4 separate regions of the Homo sapiens genome follow, and regions 2, 3 and 4 are each linked to region 1. Evidence: promoter capture Hi-C in 16 types of primary human blood cells and fetal thymus (Javierre and others, 2016). All regions are on one chromosome and are shown on one strand. The core of a region is centred on a gene start or on the middle of the fragment in contact, and the rest is flanking DNA. Distances in the headings are between cores, read along the strand shown.

Evidence for each region. The method cuts DNA at HindIII sites, captures the fragments that hold promoters and counts their contacts. A CHiCAGO score of 5 or more calls a contact.
Region 2: a fragment that was not itself captured here is called in contact with the fragment with the promoter of BLK in region 1 in 1 of 17 cell types (total B cells); the score reaches 5.4 in total B cells.
Region 3: a fragment that was not itself captured here is called in contact with the fragment with the promoter of BLK in region 1 in 2 of 17 cell types (naive B cells and total B cells); the score reaches 16.4 in naive B cells.
Region 4: a fragment that was not itself captured here is called in contact with the fragment with the promoter of BLK in region 1 in 2 of 17 cell types (total B cells and naive B cells); the score reaches 12.4 in total B cells.

Annotation. Positions count from the first base shown.
Region 1 is chr8:11,492,724-11,495,909 of GRCh38, reverse strand. It overlaps BLK (BLK proto-oncogene, Src family tyrosine kinase), which reads right to left and starts at 1,523. Exons shown (of 13, transcript NM_001715.3): 1 at 1,319-1,523. RefSeq lists enhancers at 1,212-1,301, 1,312-1,501, 391-1,590 and cis regulatory regions at 1,210-2,830, 2,904-3,186. The HindIII fragment of the contact is 7,699 bases long and covers 434-3,186 here.
Region 2 is chr8:11,733,443-11,736,628 of GRCh38, reverse strand. The region is part of intron 2 of GATA4 (GATA binding protein 4); the gene reads right to left. Among named protein-coding and RNA genes, the nearest start is that of LINC02905, 26 kb to the left of the region's middle. RefSeq lists enhancers at 180-229, 374-874. The HindIII fragment of the contact is 3,923 bases long and covers 1-3,186 here.
Region 3 is chr8:11,715,800-11,718,985 of GRCh38, reverse strand. The region is part of intron 2 of GATA4 (GATA binding protein 4); the gene reads right to left. Among named protein-coding and RNA genes, the nearest start is that of SNORA99, 12 kb to the right of the region's middle. RefSeq lists a cis regulatory region at 119-132 and an enhancer at 54-198. The HindIII fragment of the contact is 2,161 bases long and covers 378-2,538 here.
Region 4 is chr8:11,686,082-11,689,267 of GRCh38, reverse strand. It overlaps a transcript of GATA4 not described here. Among named protein-coding and RNA genes, the nearest start is that of GATA4, 17 kb to the left of the region's middle. The HindIII fragment of the contact is 8,153 bases long and covers 1-3,186 here.

The sequences.
Region 1 (3,186 bases), core at 274-2,773:
CACAGAGAATTTCCATATTTCCTTCACCAGGTTCTTCTAATGTGAACACCTTACGTAACCATGGTACATTTGCCAGAACTAAGCAGTAATTGTTACCACAATATTAGCGAGACCCCAGGTCTTGTTAAAATTTCACCTATTTTTCCACTAATGACCTTTGCGGTGTTGCTTTAGGATCCAATACAGGATGCGAATTCTGGGTTTGGGTGTCCTGACCATCATGTCTCCTCTGATCTGTGACGCTTTGCCTGTCTTTCTTTGTTTTTCATGACCTTGACATTTTTGAAGGTGAAATATGTTGTGGAATCTTCCCCAGTTTGGATTTGTCTGATGTTTTCTCATGATTTGACTGGGGTTATGAGTTGGTGGGAAGAACCGCACTGTCGTGGCAGTTCACAATAGCAGCCCAGCTTATTCCCGGTGATGCTAAGCTTGGTCCCTTGGTGAAGCTGGCATCTGCAGGTTTCTCCTCTACAGAGCTACTATTTCTCCCTTTCCATACTCTTAGTCCAAACCTCACTCAAGGTGAGGGGAATTAAGTCCCACTCTCCCGAGGGAGGAGGATATGCACATATCACAGCAATTTCTTCTGTTACTGCAAACGCACAATTCCTTAGTTCCTTGGTAATGTGGGTGGATGAGGGTGAACTTCATCCACCCGCATTACCAGATAAATGGAAACGTTGTCAAAACCTTACAATTTACACAAATCCTTTCAAAATATGTGATCAACTATGCTTTCCTTTTCACAGTTGGTGTTTCCTGGTGAAATAGATCTCTTAAACAAGAAGATCATCATTACATCTATTCAGTTACCCCATTCCTGAATGCCTGAAAAATGGAACAACTTCATTCAGAAACAAACAAATAAAACGAAAGCAACAGTCATTTGCCTTGAGCCAGATGCTCCCCGCCTGTGACCACTAACCTCTGTCAGCTCTGCACAGTCAATATCACCTCCTATCAAGAGGCCGAGTGACTCGCCGGGAGCGCAGCAGTGGCCTGTGTGTGCCCGCTCAACCCCCTCTCTACATCCCACGTCCCTTCTCTCCTCTGTGGCACATTCACTGCCTTTTCCAAAAAGCAGAATCTACCCTGGATGGATGACCTTTTATAAATTAAAAATTCTCAAAACTGGAAATGCACAAACCATGGAGCAATCTATTCATAGCTGAGGCAGCGATCCATTCATGCCTCTTCCTCCGTCTGTGGCACCCACAGCAATGTCCTTGCTTGCTTGCCCCACTACAGGCCTTACAGCACCATTTGCACAATTTAAAGGAAGACGATAAAGAACCCGGAAGACGCAGGGCCTCACCTTGGCAATGCTTCAGTGGTGTTTCACCATAGCTCTTCAGATCCTGACACCCTTACAGTGGAGCAGGCTCCTAGCGACAACGAGCAACTTCCAACACCATCCTAAAGCAAAAGCCAGTCCCAGATGAATTCTTCTCATCTCAATCAGTTTTCATGGCTTGTGGCTTTCTGCCGGCAGCAGACAGAGGTGGCAGCACCCCCGGTCTGCGATCAGAGCCTCCCCAGTCCCCAGTGAGCAAGTGCAACAGGGGCCCCGCCCTCCAGCCGAGCCCTTCTGAAGCTCCTGTGGGCTCCCTGGGTTTGGGGGTATCCCTCTGCTCCAGGAAAACTCGTGAGGAAGGACCATGAGCAGCTGCCCTGTCCCTGGCCCTGGGCAACGTGGGTCACAATGCCCTTCTGTCACCAGAAAGTTTTCTCCTGGGGTTTTGGTTTAACAGCACGGCTGGTATTTTTTCTGCACCAAGTCCGGCAGAGTTAGCAAACCTCCATGCTGACTCTACAAGGTAATTTGCCCTGCCGTGTGGACAAACGCTGCAGATCTCATGGAGAGGGCTTGGGCTCTGCCATGTGCCATCTGTGTGCACCAGGGCAGCCGTTCTTTCAGCCTCACTGGTTTTGCTTTGTCTTTAAATGATGCTAATAATAGCTAGCTCACAGGATACTATCAGCATTAAATGGTAGAATGGGTATGAATGGTGGGCATAGAATTGGTGTTTGGTAAAAGCTAATTTCCCATGTGTTTTACAGTACCCTAGCCAGTAGTTAGTTGACTTGGATCTCAGAGCCTCTTCAATGGTGGAAATTTGCTTGGCTATGAAAACTCAGAGGAGTAGAGAACAAGAATAATGGAGGTAACGGGAGAAGGATCCCAACATCTAGAGTGGTGAGTGGTGTCTGGAGTGGTGGGTGGCATCCTGTACACAGCAGTCAAAGGACCAATGGGACCAAGAAGGCTTCTGTGATGACGTCAGAGTCTTGCTGGTCCAGCCAGACACAGTGAGCCACTGGTCAGCTGGTTCCTTTCCACTAGTGTCTTGATATTGGCTTATAAGAGGAAGTCACTCGGTGGGCTCTCTCTTCTCCCTTCATAGTCTTGGATCCTTGAGAGTGGGTGTGGGAGGCAGACAGGGTAGCTTCTACCCCATGGTCCAGAATGTCAGCTTTCTCAAGGAGTTCATTTCCTTGGATTGGACTGAGACAATACTGAGCTATGAGTTGCAGGTTTGACAGGTGTTCATGTCAATAGACGCAGCAACGCAGAGTTCTGGGGTTTTAAGACACTATGGAAATAATCTGTTTCACTTCCCCAAGGGGTTTTGTGAGAATAAATGGATTCATGCATAAAAAGTATCTATTACAGTATTTAGCACATAATAAACTGCAAATACCTGGAAGCTGATGTGAATGTGGCTAATTGCTTTAAATCCCAAAGCTGATCTTCTCCACGTGGTAGCAGAGGGCTCACAACAATGTCCAGAACCCTGGGCCTGCTCAGTCCATGGCAGCTCCTGTTAATTTACTCTTACATTCACTTCCTGATACCTACTACATGGATCCAAACATGAAACATGAGTTCCAAACTCTGCGAGCTTCTGATTTAAAAAGTGACTGATTTGAGATGAGGTAACTTAGTCTTCCTATTTCAATTCAATTAATGCAGCACTGTTTTTCTGAACACCTGCTCTGTGCTAAGCACCTGCTGGAGGCTGGGGATACCAACGCAGCTACACTCCATCCTCCTCTGAGAGTCTCAGCCTAAGGAGCTTGGAGAAGGGGCCTGATAAGCAGATCACTGCAGTGGAGCGTAGTAGATGTAGCCACAGAGGCCTCAACGGGGCACAGTGCTAGACCAGAGGCGGAGGCAATAAT
Region 2 (3,186 bases), core at 297-2,796, 240 kb before region 1:
CACCACTCCTCCAGGTCCACATCCACACCCCCCGGGGTCTTGACGAAGGTCCTCCAGCCTCTAGAGGGCGCCCTGGGCTGCAGAGTTCCTGCCAAGCGCTGCTCAGGGCTCTCCTGATGCAGTGAACGGGGTCCGCCCCTGGCTTCGCTATCAGAAGCCACGCAGACCAGACTTAAAGGCAGAGGCAGGGGCAATTCCAGACGCAAGTAGAGGTGGACGCCTTAGCCAACAGTCATTTCACCTCTCTTGGTCTGGTCTCCACAACTCAAAAGTGCAGTAGTTGGAACAGATGATTTCTAGGCTCCTACCTGTGAAAGCATTCAACGTGGCACTGCATTCTAACTCTCATTTATGTTTTTAGTCCCTGTCCCCTTCAATTTGTGTTTAAATTACGCAATTTTTAATTGCTACAAAAATTCAAACAGGCCAGGCATGGTGGCTCTGGCCTGTAATCCCAGCCCTTTGTGAGGTCGGAGTATGGCTTGAGCTCAGGAGTTCAATACCAGCCTGGGCAACATAGTAACACCACATCTCTTAAATAAAATAATAATTAGCTGGGCTTGGTGGCCCTCGCCTGTAGTCTCAGCTACTCCAGAGGCTGAGGTAGGAGGATCACTTGAGCCTGGGACTTCAGGCCTGCAAGCGAGTTATGATCGCACCACCACACTCCAACCTGGGTGACAAAGCAAAACCCTATCTCAAAAAAAAATTTTTTTTTTCAAACAGGCAAACGGTACAGAAGAATGTCACGTAGAAACAAAAGGTCTCAGCTAGGCGCGGTGGCTCACGCCTGTAATCCCAGCATTTTGGGAGGCCGAGGCGGGCGGATGACCTTAGGTCGGGAGTTCGAGACCAGCCTGACCAACATGGAGAAACCCCATCTCTACTAAAAATACAAAATTAGCCAGCGTGGTGGCACATGCCTGTAATCCCAGCTACTGGGGAGGCTGAAGCAGAAGAATCGCTTGAACCCGGAAGGAGGAGGTTGCAGTGAGCCGAGATTGCACCATTGCACTCCAGCCTGGGCAATAAGAGCAAAACTCCGTCTCAAAAAAGAAAGAAAGAAAGAAACAAACAAACAAACAAAAAGTCTCCACCATCACCATGATCCCATCTCCAGGGGCAGAGGTGGCTAACAATTTTCCTGTTTTTCCAGATATCTTCCACTGCATTAATTAACATTTTTATTTTTAGAAATTTTAAAATTACATAAAAACACAAAGGACACTGTAACAATTCTGTTTATTCCCCCACCATCTGCTATCCAATCACTATATTGAATTTAGTGTATATCCTTCCAATTAATCTATATACTTCTACACACAGGGATAAATGTTCCTCTGAAGAACATAAGCATTGCTTTGCAATTTTAAAGATTTACATGAATGCTTTCTTTAAAAAATATGAAATATTTCAGTCACTGAGAAAAAAATATATAGCAAACACTCTTAAACCCACCACCAGCTTTTTCAAATCTTTGTTTTACCATATTTCCTTCAGATGTTTTTAAAGAAATACAACATTGCAGATACAGTAGATGCCTCTGTGTAACCCACAATTCCAGTCTCTTTTTTGCCTATTATGTTTCCCAGTTTTAATTATACATGTGGATCTGCTTTATTTGAGTTGATTTACAGTTTTCCATTATATTAATAAATCACATTTTACTTGTTCATTTCTTTATGGTTATGGACTAAACGTCTGTGAATAACCCAAATTTAGATCTTGCAATCCTAACCCACATGTGATGGTATTTGGAGGTTGGGCATTTGGGAGGTGAACAGGCCATCGGACGGAGCCCTCATGAATGGGATTAGTACCCTTATAAGAAGAGACAGAGGCTGGGCACGGTGGCTCACTCTTGTAATCCCAGCCCTTTCGGAGGCCGAGGCAGGGGGATCACCTGAGGTCAAGAGTTCGAGACCAGACTGACCAACATGGTGAAACCCCCCCATCTCTACTAAAGATACAAAAATTAGCCGAGCATGGTGGTGCATGCCTGTAATCCCAGCAACTCAGGAGGCTGAGGCAGGAGAATTGCCTGAACCCAGGAGGCGGAGGTTGCAGTGAGCCGAGGTTGCGCCATTGCATTCCAGCCTGGGCAACAAGAGCAAAACTCTGCCTCAAAAAAAAGAAAAGAAAAGACAGAATAGATATCTCCCTACACCCACCCCATGAGTGGATGCAGTGAGATGATGGTCTTCTGCAAAGCAGGCTTGGGTCTCTCACCAGACACCAATCTGCCAGTGCCGTGATCTTGGGCTTCCTGGCTTCCAGAACTTTGAGAAATAAGCGTTGTTAAAGCCACACATTCTATGGTATTCTGTTACAGCAACCTAAACTGGCTAAGACACTTACTGATATATATTCAGATTGTTTTCAGTTTTTTGCTGTAATAGCAATGCTTCATCAGGCATCCTTGTACATGTCTGTTTATACACATGAGAAAAGTGTATCTAGGATATAGGAGATATATTTTAGCCATGTTCAAATGTATATGTATAAAACACTTATGCTTGGTTTGGTGCTGTTTAAGCTGTTATGCTGTAACAAACAAATAGTTATTTGTTTGCTGTTCACATTACATGTCAGCTGCAAGTTGGCCGAAATTCTATATGTATGCTTCAATTGGACATGCAGGCCGAAGGCAAAACCTCTATGTGGTTCATGCCAGCCTCGTGGCAGGGGGCAAAAAGTAATGACAGAACCACGTAATGGCTCTTAATGCCTCTGTGTGGAAGTTGCATAGTGACTTCGAGTCACATATTCTTGATCAAAGCAAGTCTCATAGCCAAGCCTGTGTCATCGGGGTGGTGGAAATAATCCTCACCAGAAATGGGCTCCCTCAGTACAGGAAAGAACAGAGCAGTGTGCTGAACACACGTGGGATCATACCATGGATACTCCTCTGCAGCTGTTTCTGCAGGGACGCATATCTGTTTAGACATTTTTCCATATCAGCACAGATCTACTTCTCTCTTCGAAGAGGATTTATTAGTTTGGCATTGTTAAGGCACATAACACTTACATTCTACTCCATAATTCTCACAGCTGTTTAGCTGTACATGATATTTGAAAGGATTCAATGCTAATGCCAATCTTTTTATGCCACAGCCTCCCCATTCCTAATACCTTGGCTGCATTTCAGCAAGTAATTTTTCACTGCTACACACAACAGGGCTGCAA
Region 3 (3,186 bases), core at 209-2,708, 220 kb before region 1:
GTTGTTTGAATCAGATCTGATTGTCTGCCCCTGGTTCAAACTCCCACACCTGCTCGGAATGGGTCAATGAGCGCCTCCTGGCATGGTCCCGAGGGGTTTGGAAACATTGCAAAAGTGGTGAACTTTGAGACTTCAGCGTTTATTCTGCGATTATAATTAACCTGCTCACCAGTTGCTATCGATCAGTTCTAAATGGAGGCGATAAGGTTTGACTGGATTTCTAGAAGTAGAAATGGAGATTTCAACTGGGGAGTAGAAAGGAAGATTTAAAAAATAACTTAAGGACTGATTAGATTTTAAGAAGCAAAACTGGATTTGCGATTAGGGGATCCCAAAACCCATGGCTTTGATCTGCCTGGAAGAATCGTGAGGAAGCTTGAGTACAAAGGAAAACTCCAAAATTCAAAATTCCCACCAAATTGTGGTAGTAACTTCTTGATTTTTTATCCTCCAAAATAAAATATATCTGTAACTATTCAATGTGGGTTACAGACAGCCTCAAATTTTACTTGCAGAGGCTTTTCAATGACTTTAAACACACAGAATGGCCCACCTGTCTGGATTTTACTCCTCCTTTGGAGGGAAAATATATTTTAAAACATCAGGTCAATTCTTGGGCTCCTGCAAAATGCAGAAGGCCAGAAAACCAAATTCCCATCATTCAGATAAGAAACTTGAATATCGTGGCTCAATTCTGATTACAGAGCAGTAATAGATAAAAGCATAGGCCACCTGCCAGAAACAAGAAAACTTCCACTGATGGGCTGCTACATTCAGTTCAGACCAATTCCACGGGGCTTTTCCTGCCTGGGGTTTTAGTCATTGTCTTGATCCATGCCCCATTCTTATCTTTACTAAAATCATCATTATTGTGCTTTTATTATGATTTTCTCCTCTTCTTTCTCTGCTTTTACCACAAATATATTTGAAATCTTCAGAGAAAAGGGAACACAGAGGGTCAGTTATAGATTTCTCTTAGGAAAGGGATTTTTGAGTGAGCCATATGGTTTTGCTCTTAAGCAGCCAACAGTTCCCCTAGAGTTAGGAGAATCCTCCCATTGGAAGGGTCTGAATCCTGGGAAGTCTCTTTAGTTCTCTGCACACCAGAATCCAACGGCTAGAAAGGAAGTTTGTGCAACACTGGGATTCCTAACATTGCATTCCTGAACTGCAGAGCTTACAGTTGAGGAATGATACGGAAGATTCCGTAGGACGACATTGCTCCTAGAGAGACAGTGATTGGTGGGAAGCAAACGGAAACTCAGACAAGAAGCTACCCTGGGGAGAGGAAGCGGATGGGAGCGACAAGTCATGGAAAATCCTAAGGTTTAATAGAGCCCTTCAATCACACATAGCTTCTGGTTCTGAAGAGCCAAGTGCCCTCATATCAGATTTGGCAAATACAAAGTGTGGGGAAAGGGGGAAAGTACAATCCTGCAGGTTGGACTTACCTGGGTTCCAAACCAGGGCTGTTTACTACCCACGGGGACCTGAGATTACAGGCTCTTTCTGGGTATCAGCTTTCTTTCCAGCAAAACAGAGATCATCGTATCTACCTCTTGGAGAAAGACTTCAAAGTCCCTGGCATCAGATGATTTCTTCATTGACAGGGATCCACCTTACTGTTCAATGGAATGACATGCAAGATACAGGCTACTCTCGCTAAAAAGTTGTTAGCCAGTATCCAAACGTGAATGTGCCAAAACTTATAAATGTATTTTGTATAAATTAAAACAGATTCAAGATTATTCCTATTATAACCCCATTTATATTTTCTTCCCTGCCTTCTTTAGAAGGTAACAAAAGAGTAGCTCTAGAGATAGCCATTAAATTACTCTTAGTAACCAGTTTATGTTGTATGGCATATGGGGCCATGTCATGGTCTACCAGAGGTCAATATAGCAGAGCGATACTCCTTCCCAACAGAGCCTTAACAGCTGGTTCTGCAGGCAGGCTAGGACAAATAAGTTCCCAAAAGACAAATAGTTTCAGATGTCAGAAAAGTTGCTTCAAGTTCTTAAAGCAGCAGCTCGCGTTGGCAAGAACTGCCCTCTTCTGGAACAAGGAAAGGAAAACTAGCATACTTCCTCTTTCTTATGCAGACACAAGCAGCTACATTTGCAACTGGCTTCAGCTCTAAATTCAGTACAACTAAATTGTCTTAAAATTTGTTTAAAAGAATCACCTTGCCCTGGAGGAAGGTAACTTGTTCTTCACACAATCCCACCGCTGCAGCCGGTTAGTGGTTTTCAGGCAGGTTCTAACTCCAATATAACCTGAGGGAAAACTGCCTACCTGGAGAGGTCACCATTGCCTAGTACGTGACTGTTTGTGCCCACAAGTGGGGAAGCCACAGTAGTGTGGGGCTGGGGTGTCCGCCCATTGCTGATTTAGATCCACTACCAGCACTGAGACCAGGAGTAGAGATTTCCCCCTCTCAGTAAAGCAACCTCCTGTGAAATAAGCAAAATCAAAAGCCAAATACAGGATTGCCACTGAGGATGGTTTTGATCTGCCTTGAAGAATCTTGAGGAAGCTTGAGCATAAAGGAAAACCCCCAAAATTGTAAAAGAATAGGTAAAAGACAAATTTAATAAAAAACAACTTATGCCTTAAAGCAGTTTTCCTGTGCATCCATAAACACTAAATAGAGAATCTTCTTTAAAAAAAAAAGAAAAAGATGCTACTTTCAGGTTGATTCATGAATATCATGTATCTGTTTTTTAAAACTTAATTAGTTTAATATGTTTTTAAAATTAGGTAATATAGTCACATTCTCCAAATTCAAAAGGTTTCATTTGCATACCCATGTTCATAGCAGCATTATTCACAGTAGCCAAGACGGAGAAGCAACTCAGGTGTCCATCCATGGATGAATGGATAAACAAAACGTGGTCTACACATACAATGGAACATTATTCAGCTTTAAAAAGGAAGGAAATTCTGGCACATGCTACAACATGGATGAATCATGAAGACATTATGTTAAATGAAATTAGCCAGAAACAAAACGACAAACACTGTACGATTCTACTTGTGTGAGGTCCCTAGAGTGGTCAAATTCATAAGAAAAAGAAAATAGAATGGGGGTTACCAGGGGCTGGTGTGGAGAGGAATGGGAGTGGTATTTTAATGGGCAGAGTTTAAGTTCTAAAGATCTGATACACAGCAATGCAAAGGTATTTA
Region 4 (3,186 bases), core at 349-2,848, 190 kb before region 1:
AGTGAATGTCTTCCCATTTCTTTTTACACTGGAAAATGCTTCAGTTTCACAGATGCAGGGCCCAGAAATAAGTGGTTACTGGCCTGAAGAAACAGGCCCCATCCCTGGGGAGGGACAGTGAATTGACCCATGGGAGGTTCCAGAAGTCGTCTTGCAGCTTCTTGTCTGGGCAGCTAAGAGCAAAGTCGCTTATTGGATTTGCCGCTGCTTTGTTATTTATATTGAACTTTGGGTCTCAGGTCCACCACTGGAAGACTGGGAGTGATAAAAATATAAGGTAAACCGACCTTTCTGAATAACACATGAGAATTCATTAGTGCTCACCTCCCAAATAAATCATCTGTTGATTTTATTCATTTTCTGCAGACATTACAAATATTATAACTGCTATTGCCCCCATTGTTCCCTCACCCATCTCTCCACCAGTTTGTGCTTCAGGGGATTTGGGGATTAGGTTCTTAATTGGGGCCATCAATTCTTTGTCTTATTTTCTGCCTATGAATTTTCCTAACACTATTCTCATGAGAAAGATATGTCACTGGGGAGAAGGTTGAGGCAAGGCCACCTCCTCAATGTGTTCCTAGTTGTGGCTCCCCTAGTCACACCAGGCAATCTTTCCATTCCCTCCTGTCCCCATGCACACACTCCCCTGACACCCACTGACTCTGGGCATCACATAACGTCCCCACACAAAGATTTATAGGGTTGAGATTCAAGTGTGTGTGTGTGTGTGTGTGTGTGTGCATGCGCGCACGCGCATGCATGCATGTGTGCTTTATTTTGTCACCTCAGTAGGTTTAAAAAGTTCTTGATGGCTGGAATATCCTTTAGTAATTCTATAATCCCCTACAGTGGTCTGCACAGAGTAGGTACACAATACATACTCAAAAGAATGAATTAATGATTGAATATGTCTGAAGGTCAAATATAGAGCTCTGTATAAGAAATGTGCCTATTTCTGAAATGCAAAAAATGTTCCCAAGTATTATTCTTTTTCATATTTCAGGAGACCTCAGGCATAGACGCATTATAAATGTATAGCTTTGAAAATCAATTTGTTTTTCACTGTTTTGATCTCACGTGTGTGGGGGGCTCTTGAACTGCTATTTGCTTCACTTTATAACTTGCACCTTGGAAAGGCTGGATGATAAATGAGAGATGAATAATTCCTTATTGCTACTTATCTGCTGAATCTATAAACTGGTGTCAGCATTTACTCAGTTGGGTTTAAGCTGTGCCTGGTATACTTATTAACCTGCTTAAAATAAGCCATAAAAATGGGCTTGGTAGAAGGTACTTTTAACTAATTTTTAAAAATGACATTGGTCATTTTCCATGAACTCATGGAGTGACCTTTGGCAAATCACTCAACCTCATTGGGCAACACCTGCCAAATGAAACGGGGGCAGGGCTTGATCAGTTCTAGGAGCCTTGTAGCTGTGTAATTTTTTGATTTTTGGATGAGTAAGGGATCCCAATAAAACCTGTCAGAGCCATTACATATCAGCTCATGTAGACAATCTCCTGTATTCTTGGCTTTTCTCTGGAGGGTGAGGGAGGCAGCACTTGGTAGTTAGAGCAAGGCATTTTGAGTTCAATTCTGTTACTTATTAGTACTGTGACCTTTGGCTTTACAACATCTCTGAATCTCAGTTTTCTCATCTATAAAAAGGGGGAAATGGTCTAATAATACACCAGAGAGTTGCTGTGAGGTTCAAATGTGATGTATGTGATACCACTTTGATAAACCACAACAATTATTCATTGCCCCCAACTCACAGATGAGGGCACAGAGCTCTGTTTGGTTCAGCAGTTTGAAGCAGGGCCAAGAGGAGGATTGCTTGACCTCCCGGATTCTATTTTGATTACAGGTGGAGATTATTACAAAACTGTACAAAGATGGAGCACCTTGGATACTTCTCTGGATAATTCTCTGCGGGGGGAGGGTGGTCTATGGATGCCTAAAAAAAACTGTGCCTGAGGAGCCATTTCTGGGGATGCTAAATGGTACAGCGATAAGAAAAGCAGTCAACAACATACTGACCCACCCATCCCAGAATGCCTAGCTAGCAGAGAATGAAGCGTTTTTCAAAGGCAAGGGAAATCTCTTCCCTCCCAGCTGTGTCCTCCTCACTTCTCACATCTCTTGCTTTGGAAGGCATCCTCTGCACATCAAGAACACAGATGTCTGCTCAGGCTTTGGAGTTAATCCCCTTCCTAGAAAAGGGGCAGATTAAACAACTGTGGTTGAGGATTTTTTTTTTTTTTTTGAAACGGATTCTCACTCTGTCACCCAGGCCGGAGTGCAATGGCGCAATCTCGCTTCACTGCAACCTCCGCCTCCCGGGTTCAAGTGGTTTTCCTGCCTCAGCCTCCTGAGTAGCTGGGATTACAGGCGCGCCCCACCATGCCCAGGTAATTTTTGTATTTTTAGTAGAAACGGGGTTTCATCATGTTGGTCAGGCTGGTCTCGAACTCCTGACCTCGTGATCTGACCGCCTCGGCCTCCCAAAGTGCTGGGATTAGAGGCATGAGCTACTGCGCCCAGCCTGAGGATTTTGTTTGTAGAGAATTAAGTCAACAAGGGTGTCTGGAACTCACCCCTGCAAGAATCATCCTTCAGGAAAGTTCCTACCACTATGCCTGTGCAGTGTAGGGGGCTGGAAAATTACATGAAGATGGCTATGGTGCCTGTCTCGGCCTTGCTTGCCTTGTAGATGAAGAAGGGAAGAGATGAGCTTAGGAGGAGCTGCCTCCAGTCTTCAGAAAATTCTGTGATTTGCAAAAATTCTATTCACACTCCATTATCAACAAACACACCCACCCAACCAACGAAGGCCAACCTCAAAAATTTTTTTTAAATGTAGGACTTAGAGAAAGAAAATACCATTATTAAATGGTATTTTAAGTTTATATTTCATGCTATATTCAGAATGCAATTTATTTGCTATTTATTTGCTAATTAATAAAAGTGAAATTGGTCTTTATCTCGATGTTACTTTTATCTTCTGTTGACTGGGATGTGCTACATTAAGATTAAAAAAAAAAAAACAGACCCAGTACAAGATCTTTTGAAGGTCTCCTAAGTTTATGGTGGGATCTCACTTCTACTTGCTTTTGTGACCACTCTCCCCCAGCTCCATCCCACACCCTTCTTGTAAAGCAGGAGGAAGGCATCTGCTACTT